Linked DNA regions of Homo sapiens: region 1 is linked to region 2. The links are contacts of gene promoters, found by promoter capture Hi-C in blood cells and fetal thymus (Javierre and others, 2016). All regions are on one chromosome and are shown on one strand. The core of a region is centred on a gene start or on the middle of the fragment in contact, and the rest is flanking DNA. Distances in the headings are between cores, read along the strand shown.

Region 1 (5,998 bases), core at 1,385-3,884, 130 kb before region 2:
TGGTTGAAAGACTTGGAGGGCTACAATTAAGAAACAAGGGGGCCAGGCACAGTGGCTCACGCCCATAATCCCAGCAGTTTGGGAGGCCAAAGTGGGTGGATCACCTGAGGTCAGGAGTTTGAGACCAGCCTGGCCAACATGGTGAAACCCCATCTCTACTGAAATACAGAAATTAGCCGGGCGTGGTGGCGTGCGTCTCTAATCCCGGTTACTCAGGAGGCTGAGGCAGGAGAATCACTTGAACCCGGGAGGCTGAGGTTGTGGTGAGCCAAGATCATGCCATTGCACTCCAGCCTGGGCAACAAGAATGAAACTCTGTCTCCAAAAAAAAAAAAAAAAAAAAAATAGAAACAAGGGTGAGGCTGGGTGTGGTGGCTCACACCTATAATCCTAGCACTTGGGCACTTGGGGAGGCCAAGGCAGGAGAATCACTTGAGCCAAGGACTTCAAGACCAGCCTGGGCAACATGGTGAAACCCCATCTCAACAAAAACATACAAAAATTAGTTGGGCGTGGTGGCTCATGCCTACGGTCCCAGCTACTTGGGAGGCTGAAGCAGGAGGATCACTTGAGCCCAGGAGCCAGAGGTTGCAGTGAGCTGAGATCGCACCACTGCACTCCAGCCTGGGCAACAGAGTTGAGACTCTGTCTCAAAAAAGAAAAAAAAAAGGGATGAATTTAAGATAGGGCCTTTTTAAAACCACAACTCTCAGATGAGTTGGCACAAGAAAAGAAAATTTTTTAAAAAGATAAAACTGTAACCCAACCTCAATTCAGCTCAGTACCTGAAGCTAAGCGGCCAATACTCTTCCTGCACAGCAGAAGAGAGAGTTAAGTCCTTTCTGGAAGAAAATAATATCATCTGGAGGTCTATAATTCTTTTAAGCAATATCTAAGATTCAAACTAGGCATGCCAAGAGACAAAGCCATATACATGATTATCAAGAAAAATACAATGGAAACAAACTCACACATGACCCAGATACCAGAGTAAGCATATAACAACATAAAAATAACTACTGTGGCTGGGCGCAGTGGCTCATGCCTGTAATCCCAACACTCTGGGAGGCTGAGCGGGGCAGATCACTTGAGATCAGGAGTTCCAGATAAGCCTGGTCAACATGGTGAAATCCTGTCACTACTAAAAATACAAAAACTAGGCGGGTGTGGTGGTGGGCACCAGTAATCCCAATTACTCGGGAGGCTGAGGCAGGAGAATTGCTTGAACCTGGAAGGTGGAGGCTGCAGTGAGCAGAGATGGCGCCACTGCACTCCAGCCTGGGTGACAGAGTGAGACTCTGTCTCAAAAATAAAATAAAATAAAATAATTAGTATGACTAAAATGTAAAAATAGAGTGGGGAGGGTTAAAAAAGATTGAAGGATAAAGCCTTTTACTAGATAACTGAAATCTATAAAAACTAAATGTAAATTCCCAAACTGAAAGATACAATAACTGAAATTAAGAACTCAGGTTATGGGTTTAACTGCAGATCAGATGCAACAGAAAAGAGGATGATTGACCTAAAAGGCCAATAGAAAAATATACAAATTGGCCAGGCACGGTGGCTCACGCCTGTAGTCTCTGCTACTTGGGAGGCTGAAGCACGAGAATCGCTTAAACCCAGGAGGTGAAGGTTGCGATGAGTCGAGATCACACCACTGCACTCCAGCCTGGGTGACAGAGCGAGACTCCGTCTGAAAAAAGAAAAAATATATAAACTGAAGCACAGAGAGGAAATAGAAAAATCAGAAAAAAGCATAAGAGACATGTGGAATACTGAGAAAAGACCAAACATACATGTAACCTAAATCCTAAAAAGAGAGCGGAGTGGAAGGGGCAGCAGCAGTGTTTTAAAAGAGAACGGCTACCTCTAGGGCCCCAAGCTTAGTTTCTAATGCCATTCTCCAACACATTGAACAGGGGCTCCTTGGAGAAATGGCTGAATTGTAGGGCTGGGGTAGGGAATGAACACAGTGGAGCTTCTGATAGTGCTGGAAAGTAAGGAAGTGCTCAAAGAAACCCACAATAGTAGAGTCAGTGGGACACAGGAATCCACTGAAAGCTCTCAATGGCCAAGCTGGAACAATTAGAACTACAAAATAAATAAAGTAGTATTGAATAATCATCCAAAGTATAAAATATCCATGAGTCCATGTTGAAATAAATGACAGAATACATAAATAAATGGGAGAGGAGAGACAAATTTCCTGTGCTGAAAATTCCAAAGAATTTACGCAGATACGATGCCCTTGAGGAGGTGGGTCATAACTCCCTGCTCTTTCAGTGTGGGCTGCACACGATGATTTCCTCCTAATGAGTACAGGATGAACACGGAGGAAATGAAACCGCCTTTGCAAAATGATGACTGAGACAGTGAAAGAGATCCAACCTAACCGACTCCATCTTGCGTCTAACCTCCAAGCTGCCCTTGTTCATTCCTGGGCGTAGGCTGAACTAACTTGGGGGGAAACTTAATTTATAGTTTAAAACAAAGACGGTAACAGCCCTTTCCCAAAGCAGACCTCCTTCTTGCCGGGGGACTAGACTAACATTAGTCACAAGATTAGAAATGATGGTTTAGGAGCCATGCAGCTGGAGGCTACAAGATTCTGACCCTCCCTACACTGCTCCTAAGATCAGCGCTTGAGATATTTTGCAGACCCTGCACTTGATGGATCAGCTGGCACCACCCAGATGGATAAACTGGCTCATCTGATCTTGTGGCCCCGACCCAGGAACTGACTCAGCACAAGAAGACAGCTGACTCCCTGTGATTCCATCCCTGATCAATCAGCACTCCCGGCTCACTGGCTCTCCACACCCACCAAGCTGTCCTTAAAAACTCTGCTCCCCGAATGCTGGGAGAGACTGATTTGAGTAATAATAAAACTCCGGTCTCCCGCACAGCCGGCTGTGCGTGAATTACTTTTTCTCTATGGCAATTCCCCTGTCATGATGAATCGGCTCTGTCTAGGCAGCGGGCAAGTGAACCCACTGAGCAGTTATAGAAAGAGTAAGTTTATAGTAAAGAAACCTGAGAAGCATTAGCTCAGGCAGGGAGGCAAAGTTCATATGAACAGTAACATGTCATGTTGACAGTATGTACCATTGATATGATATGACGAGAATGGCGTCTTACCTCTGTGATCTTCCTTCCAAAAACCTGTAACCTCAGACTAATCATTAGCAGAAAAATCCCAGTGAAGGAACATTCTACAAAACACCTAACCAGTACTCCTCAAAAAAGTCAAGGTGATGAAAAACAAGAAAGTCTGAGAAACTGTTACCGCCAAGAAGAGCCCAAAGAGACATTTAATGTGGTATCCTAGATAGAATCCTAAAGCAGAAAAAGGACATTAGGAACAAACTAGAAATCAGAACAAAGCTTTATTTGATAACACTGTATCAATATTGTTTCATTAATTATAATAAATGTTCCATACTATGTAGATGTTAACCATAGGGAGTCCGGGTGCGGTAGATGATGCCTGTAACCCCAGTGTTTTGGGAAGCCGAGGCAGGAGGACTGGTTAAGCCCAAGAGGTCAAAGCTGCAGTGAGCCACGGTTGCACCACTGCACTCCAGCGTGGGCGACAGAGCAAGAACTGTCTCAATAGCATAATTACTATTCTTACAGTAACAGGGAAACTGGGTGTGGAGTATACGCTAACTCTGCAACTTTTCTATAAATCTAAAACTATTTTAAAATAAAAACTTGGTTTTTTTATTTTTTTATTTTTTGAGATAGAGTTTCACTCTGTTCCCCAGGCTGGAGTGCAGTGGCGTGATCTCAGCTCACTGCAACCTCCACCTCCCAGGTTCAAGCAATTCTCCTGCCTCAGCCTCCAAGTGGCTGGGGTTACAGGTGTGCACCACCATGCCCGGCTAATTTTTTGTAATTTTAGTAGAGACAGGGTTTCGCCAGGTTGGCCAGGCTGGTCTCGAACTCCTGACCTCAAGTGATCCACCCACCTCGGTCCCCCAAAGGGCTGAGATTACAGGTGGGAGCCACTGCACCTGGCCAAAAACTGTTTTTTTTAAACAAAGGTAATGGCTAAGAATTTTCCCAAACTGATAAAAAAAATCAACCTGGCTGGGTGCAGTGGCTCACACTGGTAATCCCAGGACTTTAGAAGGCCGAGCATGGTGTTGGCACCTATACTCCCAGCTACTCGGGAGGCTGAGGCAGGAGAATCTCTTGAACCTGGGAGGCAGAGCTTGCAGTGAGCCAAGATCGCACCATTGCACTACAGCCTGGGAGACAAAAGCGAAACTCCATCTCAAAAAAAAAACAACAAAAAAATCAATCCATAGATTCAAGAGACTCTGAGTGCTCTAAGCAGAATAAATACAAAGAAAGTAATAGTGGCTAGAGAGGACATACCATCTTAAATTGAATAATAAAACTTACAGCTGACTTCTCAACAGAAACAATGGAAACTAGAAGACAAGGTAAGCACTTATCTACCTACCTACCTACCTACCTATCTGAGGCAGGGTCTCACTCTGTCACCCAGGCTGGAGTACAGTGGCACAATCACGGCTTACTGCAGTCTCAACCTTCCTGGGCTCAAGAGGTCCTCCCACCTCAGTCTCTCAAGTAGCTGGGACCACAGGCGTGTGCCACCATGCCCGGCTAATTTTTGTATTTTTTTGTAGAGACAGAGTTTTGCTGTGTTGCCCAGGCTGGTCTGGAACTCCTGGGCTCAAGTGATCCTCCTGCCTCAGCTTCCCAAAGTGCTGGGATTACAGGTGTGAGCCACCACGCCCGGCCCTGATGGGAAACTTTATAATAGATGGATCCATCTGACAATATCTGAACTCCATGATCAACCTTAACAAAGCAAAAAGAGATGACCAGCTATTTTGTACCTTCTGAGAAGATGCAATAGGATGTATAGAAAACAGTATTTCCCCAACCTCAAACCTATGGCTAATTAAGACTAGATCTAACTACTTATTTTCAAGAAGTACAGGAAATAGAAGACATATTAAACAATACCATAGGTATATAATCAGCAACTGCCAGAATATAGGAAACTCTACAGGACAAACAAACCAATTTCTTCAACAAATAAATGGCAGGAAAAAATAAATAAATAAATAACTGACAGGGCACAGTGGCTCACGCCTGCAATCCCAGCACTTTGGGAGGCCAAGGTGGGTGGATCACCTGAGGTCAGGAGTTGGAGACCAACCTGGCCAACATGGTGAAACCCCATCTCTACTAAAAATACAAAAATTACCTGGGCGTGGTGGTGAGCGCCTGTAATCCCAGCTACTCAGGAGGCTGAGGCAGGAGAATCACTTGAACCCGGCAGGCAGAGGTTGCAGTGAGCCGAGATCATGCCACTGCACTCCAGCCTGGGTGAGGAAGCAAGACTGTCATAAAAATAAAATCAAATGGCAGGATTAAAAGAAGAAAGAGAGAAATGAGGCAGCAAAAACAACACATTGAAGTAAATTTAAAGCCAGATGCTGTGGTGTGCACCTATAGTCCCAGCTACCTGGCAGGCTGAGGTGGGAGGATCACTTGAGCCCAGGAGTTCTAGTCTGTAGTGTGTTATGATCACATCTGTGAATAGCCACTGCACTCCAGCCTGGGCAAGATAGCAAGATCTTACGTCTTAAAAAAAAATCCTAATTTACATATTAACCAAATGCAATGTGTGGACCTTGTTTGAATCTTAATTTGAAAAAATTGTAAAAAGAAAATAATAGGTCTGGCATGGTGGTTCAAGCCTATAAGTCCACCACTTTAGGAGGCCAAGGCTGGTGAATTGCCTGAGCCCAGGAGTTTAAGACCAGACTGGCCAACAGAGTGTGACCCATCTCTGCAAAAAAAAAAAAAAAAAAGAAAGAAAGAAAATTAGCCAGGTGTGGTGGTGCACACCTGCAGTCCCAGCTACTCAGGAGGCTGAGGCAGGAGGATCACTTGAGCCCAGGAGGCCAAGGCTGCAGTGAGTTGTGATAGTGCCATTGCACACCAACCTGGG
Region 2 (5,570 bases), core at 962-3,461:
AAAATTAGCCAGGCGTGGTGGCAGGCGCCTGTGGTCCCAGCTACTTGGGAGGCTGAGGCACGAGAATGGTGTGAACCTGGGAGGCAGAGCTTGCAGTGAGCCAACATCACGCCACTGCACTCCAGCCTGGGTGACAGAGCGAGACTCCGTCTCAAAAAAAAAAAAAACATCAGTCATTATTTCATACTCACTGAATCAGAGAGAGATCTGTTCTATTCAGTAAGAAATAAGACTTTTCTAAAATCTTTCAATTTTCCGTTCTATTTCTAAATGCCAAAAAAAGATAAGACTCACATTTATTTTTATTTTTTCTTTTTCTTTTTTTTGCTCCTGCCTAAAAAGTAAGGACTCACATTTTTGATGATGCATTTGTTTTTACAAGAATATTGAGCTTCCAAGTAAAACCTTTGTGAAATCAGAGCATAAGCTATTAAGGTCACTAAAATAAATATAAAATACCTTTTAATTATAAACACTACGATTAAAACGTATGTGGAGAGAACCCCAAAAAAATTTTAAGACATGTAAAAAAGGCAAAAAGAAATCAATCATGTGTTTCTAACGGTTAATCACTATCTTGTAAAAAGAATCCCAAAAATTATCAATAGAAATTCACAATATTTGAAGAACACTCAAAGGTATTTTCGCTCTGTAGATCTCCAGATACCACTGTCTACTGATTGAGGGACTCCAACTTGATCCAGCAATCAAGCTACGTAGACGAACAGAAACAGAATTAAAGCAATTAAGTGAGTCAATTCAACTCACCACACTTCGGTTTTTGTGTGTACCTAATAAAAATGTTGCAACAGAAGAAGTAATGTGGCGTTAAACCAATCAGAGTTTGGGAAGAGTAGTAATTAGCATAAGAAACTGAAAATTAATTAAGTGGCTTTTAGGGCCAGGCGCGGTGGCTCACGCCTGTAATCCTAGCACTTTGGGAGGCTGAGGTGAGTGGATCATTTGAGGACAGGAGTTCAAGACCAGCCAGGCCAACATGATGAAACCCCGCCTCTACTAAAAATACAAAAATTAGCCGGGCCTGGTGACAGGCGCTTGTAGTCCCAGCTACTCGGGAGGCTGAGACAGGAGAATCGCTTGAACCCGGGAGGTGGAGGTTGCAGTGAGCCAAGATCGTGCCTGGGAGATCTGCACTCCAACCTGGGCAACACAGCGAGACTGTCTCAAAATAATAATAATAATAATAATAATAAGTGGCTTTTTTTTTCTTTTTGAGAAATGATCTTGCTCTGTTGCCAGGGATGGAGCGCAGTGGTATGATCTACTCACCGCAGCCTTGAACTCCTAGGCTCAAGCAATCCTCCCACCTCAGCCTCCCCAGTAGCTGGGACTACATGTCGGTGCCACTACATCCAGCTCATTTTCTTATTTCTGTAGAGATGGGGCCTCACTATGTTTTGCCCAGGCTGGTCTGCAACTCCTCGCCCCATGTGAATCTCCAGCCTCCGTCTCCCAAACTGCTAGGATTACAGGCGTGAGACACCGCGCCAGGCCCAAGTGGCATCATAAACCATCTCTAGGAAATCTAAAGGATTAATAATGATATTCACTTCTCTATCAGATTCACTGCAAAGATTTTTCTATATAAGCATAATGCAGCAACACTAACTTATATACACAATAATCTTCTCCATAGCAATGATTTGTCAGACATTAGGAAATCCTTTACATATTTAATATAATAATCCAATCCTTTATATCTTCAATAATCCAATCACAAAGTTCAAAAATATTAAGAGAAGTTATCATGCAACTCCTCACCCCAATTTTATTGCAAATTTTACTTTACTTTGACCTGATGTTCCATGCCCACAAGCTAGATAACAATGCGTCAAATATCTCGTTATCATTGCAAAGCAAAAAAATAAAACTTGCTTTAATATAAAACGGTAACTAGTATACAACCTGTAGTAGTTAAAACAATATAAAATTTTACTTAACCAGATATTGCACGTTAAACTCTAGGAACATTAACAGTGGAAACATTCTCCGCATCTAACAAATTACGAGATAAAGTATAGATCCGTTGAGAGGGAACTAACATTCTGACCTCCTTCCAAAACGACAAACTAGAACGGCAAAATTACACTCAGGCACATTGGAGTACTCTTCTCTCAAATCACTCCACAGAGAACTTCATCATTTGCTCCGCCCTCTAATAACTCATGCAAGAAAAGTTCAGCACCATCAGAGAGAAACAAGACAGAGAGAATTCATAGAATGGCTTTAGGGCCTTTCCTCCAGGCGGTAAGAGGATCTGCGTGTGTCCTTCGCAGGGGTCCAAAGGGAGAGAACCTAGGCCTAGGGTTTCGGGGATACCGACACCCAGAAACAGATTTTCTCTCAAAGAAGTTTCTGCCGCCATCCCTATCTTATCAGCAGGAGGCCCCGGCGCCATCGTCTCCGTCTTTATGATTTTATTATGGGGAGGTGGGAAACGCCACCCTGGATTCTTCCAGGCCTCCCCTATTCAGCTTGGGGGTTCCCCCTCATTCTTCCCTCAAAGCCTCAGTCCCTGAGGTCCTCCTCAGCACCCCCCGCTTCTGGCGGCCTGTCCCCCGTGAAGTGTAAAGGCACGGCCGAACCCACCGGCCTTGCCGTGAAGGCGGGAGGGCCCGAACCCGCCAGGGCCACGGCGATGGCTCCGAGGGGCCCAGAAAGGGGAAGGGCAGGCCGGGGACCGGGGCAGAATGACCTGGCCGGGGAAGAAAGGAAAAAAGGAGGTGAGGAGATGCACCGCACCGCAGGGCTGCACAGAGAAGGGAAGATGATGAAGGAGGAGGAGGAGGGCGGTGGCCCGGGTGCGGCCCCCTACTCCTCCCGCCCCCGGGTCCCCGGGCCGGCGGGGGCGGACGGACTCGGCCCATTCCCAGGTCTGGGCTGGCGGGGGGTTGGGGGATCTCCCTCCACGCTACTAGGAGACAGAGAACGAGGGTATCGGGAGCGGGGGGGGGCTGTCTCCCGCCTGAACCCGGAGACCCCGACGCCGTCGTCGCCTCTTCCTCAGGAGGGAGGACGGCAGCTGTGGGTAAAGCCCGAAGGAGGAATGCCTGAAGGTAAGGGGAAGCCCGGGGCAGACCCGCTGCCCGCTCCGGACCCCACTCTCCACCTTCCGGTAACCGCGTCTCTTACCGGTAATGGTGGTGAACTGTTGAATTAACCCCTTCAGCGCCGAGGACGCCGCGGAGCCCCCGTGGGCAGCCATCTTACCGCCGCCGCCGCCGCCGAACAACAACACAGACACACACGGACTGCCCTCCCCCACTTCGCCGTGCGGTGTGCGCAGGCGCATTGACCGCCCCTCGAGCCCCGCCCCTCCCGTCCCCAGCGGTCTGCGCAGGCGCATTTTCCGACCGGGCCCGCGCGCTCCCAGCTCTCGGGTTGGCTGCTCGGTTGCTGCCTGCTCAGTGCATCCTTTTTGCCATTGCTGGTGCCTTCCTCTCCGGGCTCCAAGGCTAGCCTCGCAGGCGCGGTGTCGATTCCTAGATTCCGAAGGAAGCTTCGGTCTCGGCAGATAGTTCTTCGCATTTCAGCTTCGCAAGCTTTATTGACAGAGCCAACTGCCGATGACAGCATTTTTCTGTTTTGCGGTTGTACCGCACTCTATTAGGTTTCCTGCAGGTCCCATCAAAATGCAAACCCTACCTCCTCGCTTTGAAGCGACTCTCCCCGTACTCGCCCCCCAGCCTCTAAACTAATGGCTTAGCTAACCGATTGCGACGAGTGAAATACCAGAACCCTTCATGCCAAAGAAAGCACTTAGCGCGGGGTTGCCACCCAGTAGGTTTTCATAAACGATTGTTTAGTCTGCTTTCCTTAAATAAATTGGCCATCACGTCTCCCGTTAGGGTCTTAATGAGACCCCAAGAGGCGTCATTTGTATAAAAAGAAACTCTGTATATGCAGTAGAGGAAAGAAAACATATAGAAAGGAGACTGGAAAAGTGTGCTCAAAACGCTGGTAACGGTTACCTCCAGAGAAGAGAACGATCGGGACGATGGTCAAAGCGGACCTTACTTCGAGTTTCTTATTTATCTTTTTATTTTTAAACAAACATTATTGGCCGGGCGCGGTGGCTCATGACTGTAATCCCAGCACTTTGGAAGGCCGAGGTGGGAGAATCGCTTGAGGCAAGGAGTTCGAGACCAGACTGGGAAATATATCAAGAATCCATCTCAAAAAAAAAAAAAAAAAAAAGATATTCGTGTGTTCCTTGAATAATTTTAAGTATTTTGCAAAACAGTTACATGAGTGGGGTGCGCTCAAATCCAATAATCCCCCACCTTGCCCATAAAGTTAAAAGAGATTCCAAGTGATTCCGTTTGTTTTAGCCTCCCACCTTCCAACCTCCACCCACATATTTTGCATCTTCATAGGAAAATGGCCCAATAAAAGATGGGATGAGCTGTCTGAAGAATTGACACATCCTAAGAGTAAACATGCTATTGGGGAGAATTAAGAAAGAGCCATGTCAAATCAAGGGGTATAGTTTTTTGTTTTGTTTTGTTTGACAGGGAGTCTCGCTCTGTCGCCCAGGCTGGAGTGCAGTGGTGCAATCTCAGTTTACTGAAAGCTCCGCCTCCCGGGTTCAAGCGATTCTCCTGCCTCAGCCTCCCAAGTAGCTGGGATTACAGGCACACGCCACCACGCCTGGCTAATTTTTGTATTTTTAATAGAGACGAGGTTTCACCATGTTGAGCAGGCTAGTCTCAAACTACTGACCTCAAGTGATCCACCCGCCTCGGCCTCCCAAAGTGTTGGGATTACAGGCGTGAGCCACCACACCCAGTCGGGCTGTAGTTTCAAGAAGATATGATTGATGTAAAAGAAAGCAGACTCCAGTAATCCCAGCACTTTGGGAGGCCGAGGCGGGCGGATCGCCCGAGGTCAGGAGTTCCAGACCAGCCTGGTCAACATGGCGAAACCCCATCTCTACTAAAAATACAAAAATTAGCTGCTGTGGTGGCGCGGGCACCTGTAATCCCAGCTACTTGGGAGGCTGAGGCAGGAGAATCACTTGAACCCGGGAGGCAGAGGTTGCAGTGAGCCGAGATCATGCCACTGTGCTCCAGCCTGGGTGACAGAGCAAGACTCCGTCTCAAAAAAAAAAATGTATTTTAAGTTAAATGACAGATTGGTCCTGGCACTGCCTTCCAGGTTGCTGCAGTTCTCTAGATGGGCTGAGGAAGGGCAGGGATCAGTCATAAATTTCGGCAGCTGATTCCTTCACATTTGATGCAGAGGTGCAAAAACAGGCAAGGGAAGAAAGCCAAATCAAGAAAGTGTTACCTCTGTCTCCCTTCATCCTAAAGGCTGAGTCACTAGCCAGCCATGCAAAATCAAGCTCCACGTAAAATGGTATAACACCATTAACTACAAAAACTAAACACAGTGATTACTGTACCTCCATCAGATGGAGAGGCCAGTAATGAGCTCTGCAGGTTTATCAGGTTTATTTCCAAAATCTTATAATTCAGATTTAATGATATGATTTTGATTAACAGTGCAGGAAAAGGTGATAAAGTCTGTGGCATCCACAACTCCAGAAG

Evidence for each region. The method cuts DNA at HindIII sites, captures the fragments that hold promoters and counts their contacts. A CHiCAGO score of 5 or more calls a contact.
Region 1: a contact is called between a fragment that was not itself captured here and the fragment with the promoter of UBXN7-AS1 in region 2, in 1 of 17 cell types (megakaryocytes). The highest score is 5.0, in megakaryocytes.

Annotation. Positions count from the first base shown.
Region 1 is chr3:196,300,408-196,306,405 of GRCh38, forward strand. All of the region lies in intron 3 of DYNLT2B (dynein light chain Tctex-type 2B), which reads right to left. Among named protein-coding and RNA genes, the nearest start is that of DYNLT2B, 15 kb to the right of the region's middle. The HindIII fragment of the contact is 1,502 bases long and covers 1,884-3,385 here.
Region 2 is chr3:196,429,174-196,434,743 of GRCh38, forward strand. UBXN7-AS1 (UBXN7 antisense RNA 1) reads left to right here and starts at 2,212. Exons shown (of 2, transcript NR_046745.1): 1 at 2,212-2,268; 2 at 3,029-3,861. UBXN7 (UBX domain protein 7) reads right to left here and starts at 3,254. Exons shown (of 11, transcript NM_015562.2): 1 at 3,154-3,254. The coding sequence starts at 3,226. RefSeq lists enhancers at 2,011-2,785, 2,362-2,411, 2,786-3,559, 3,492-3,571 and silencers at 3,122-3,181, 3,202-3,451. The HindIII fragment of the contact is 6,741 bases long and covers 1-3,518 here.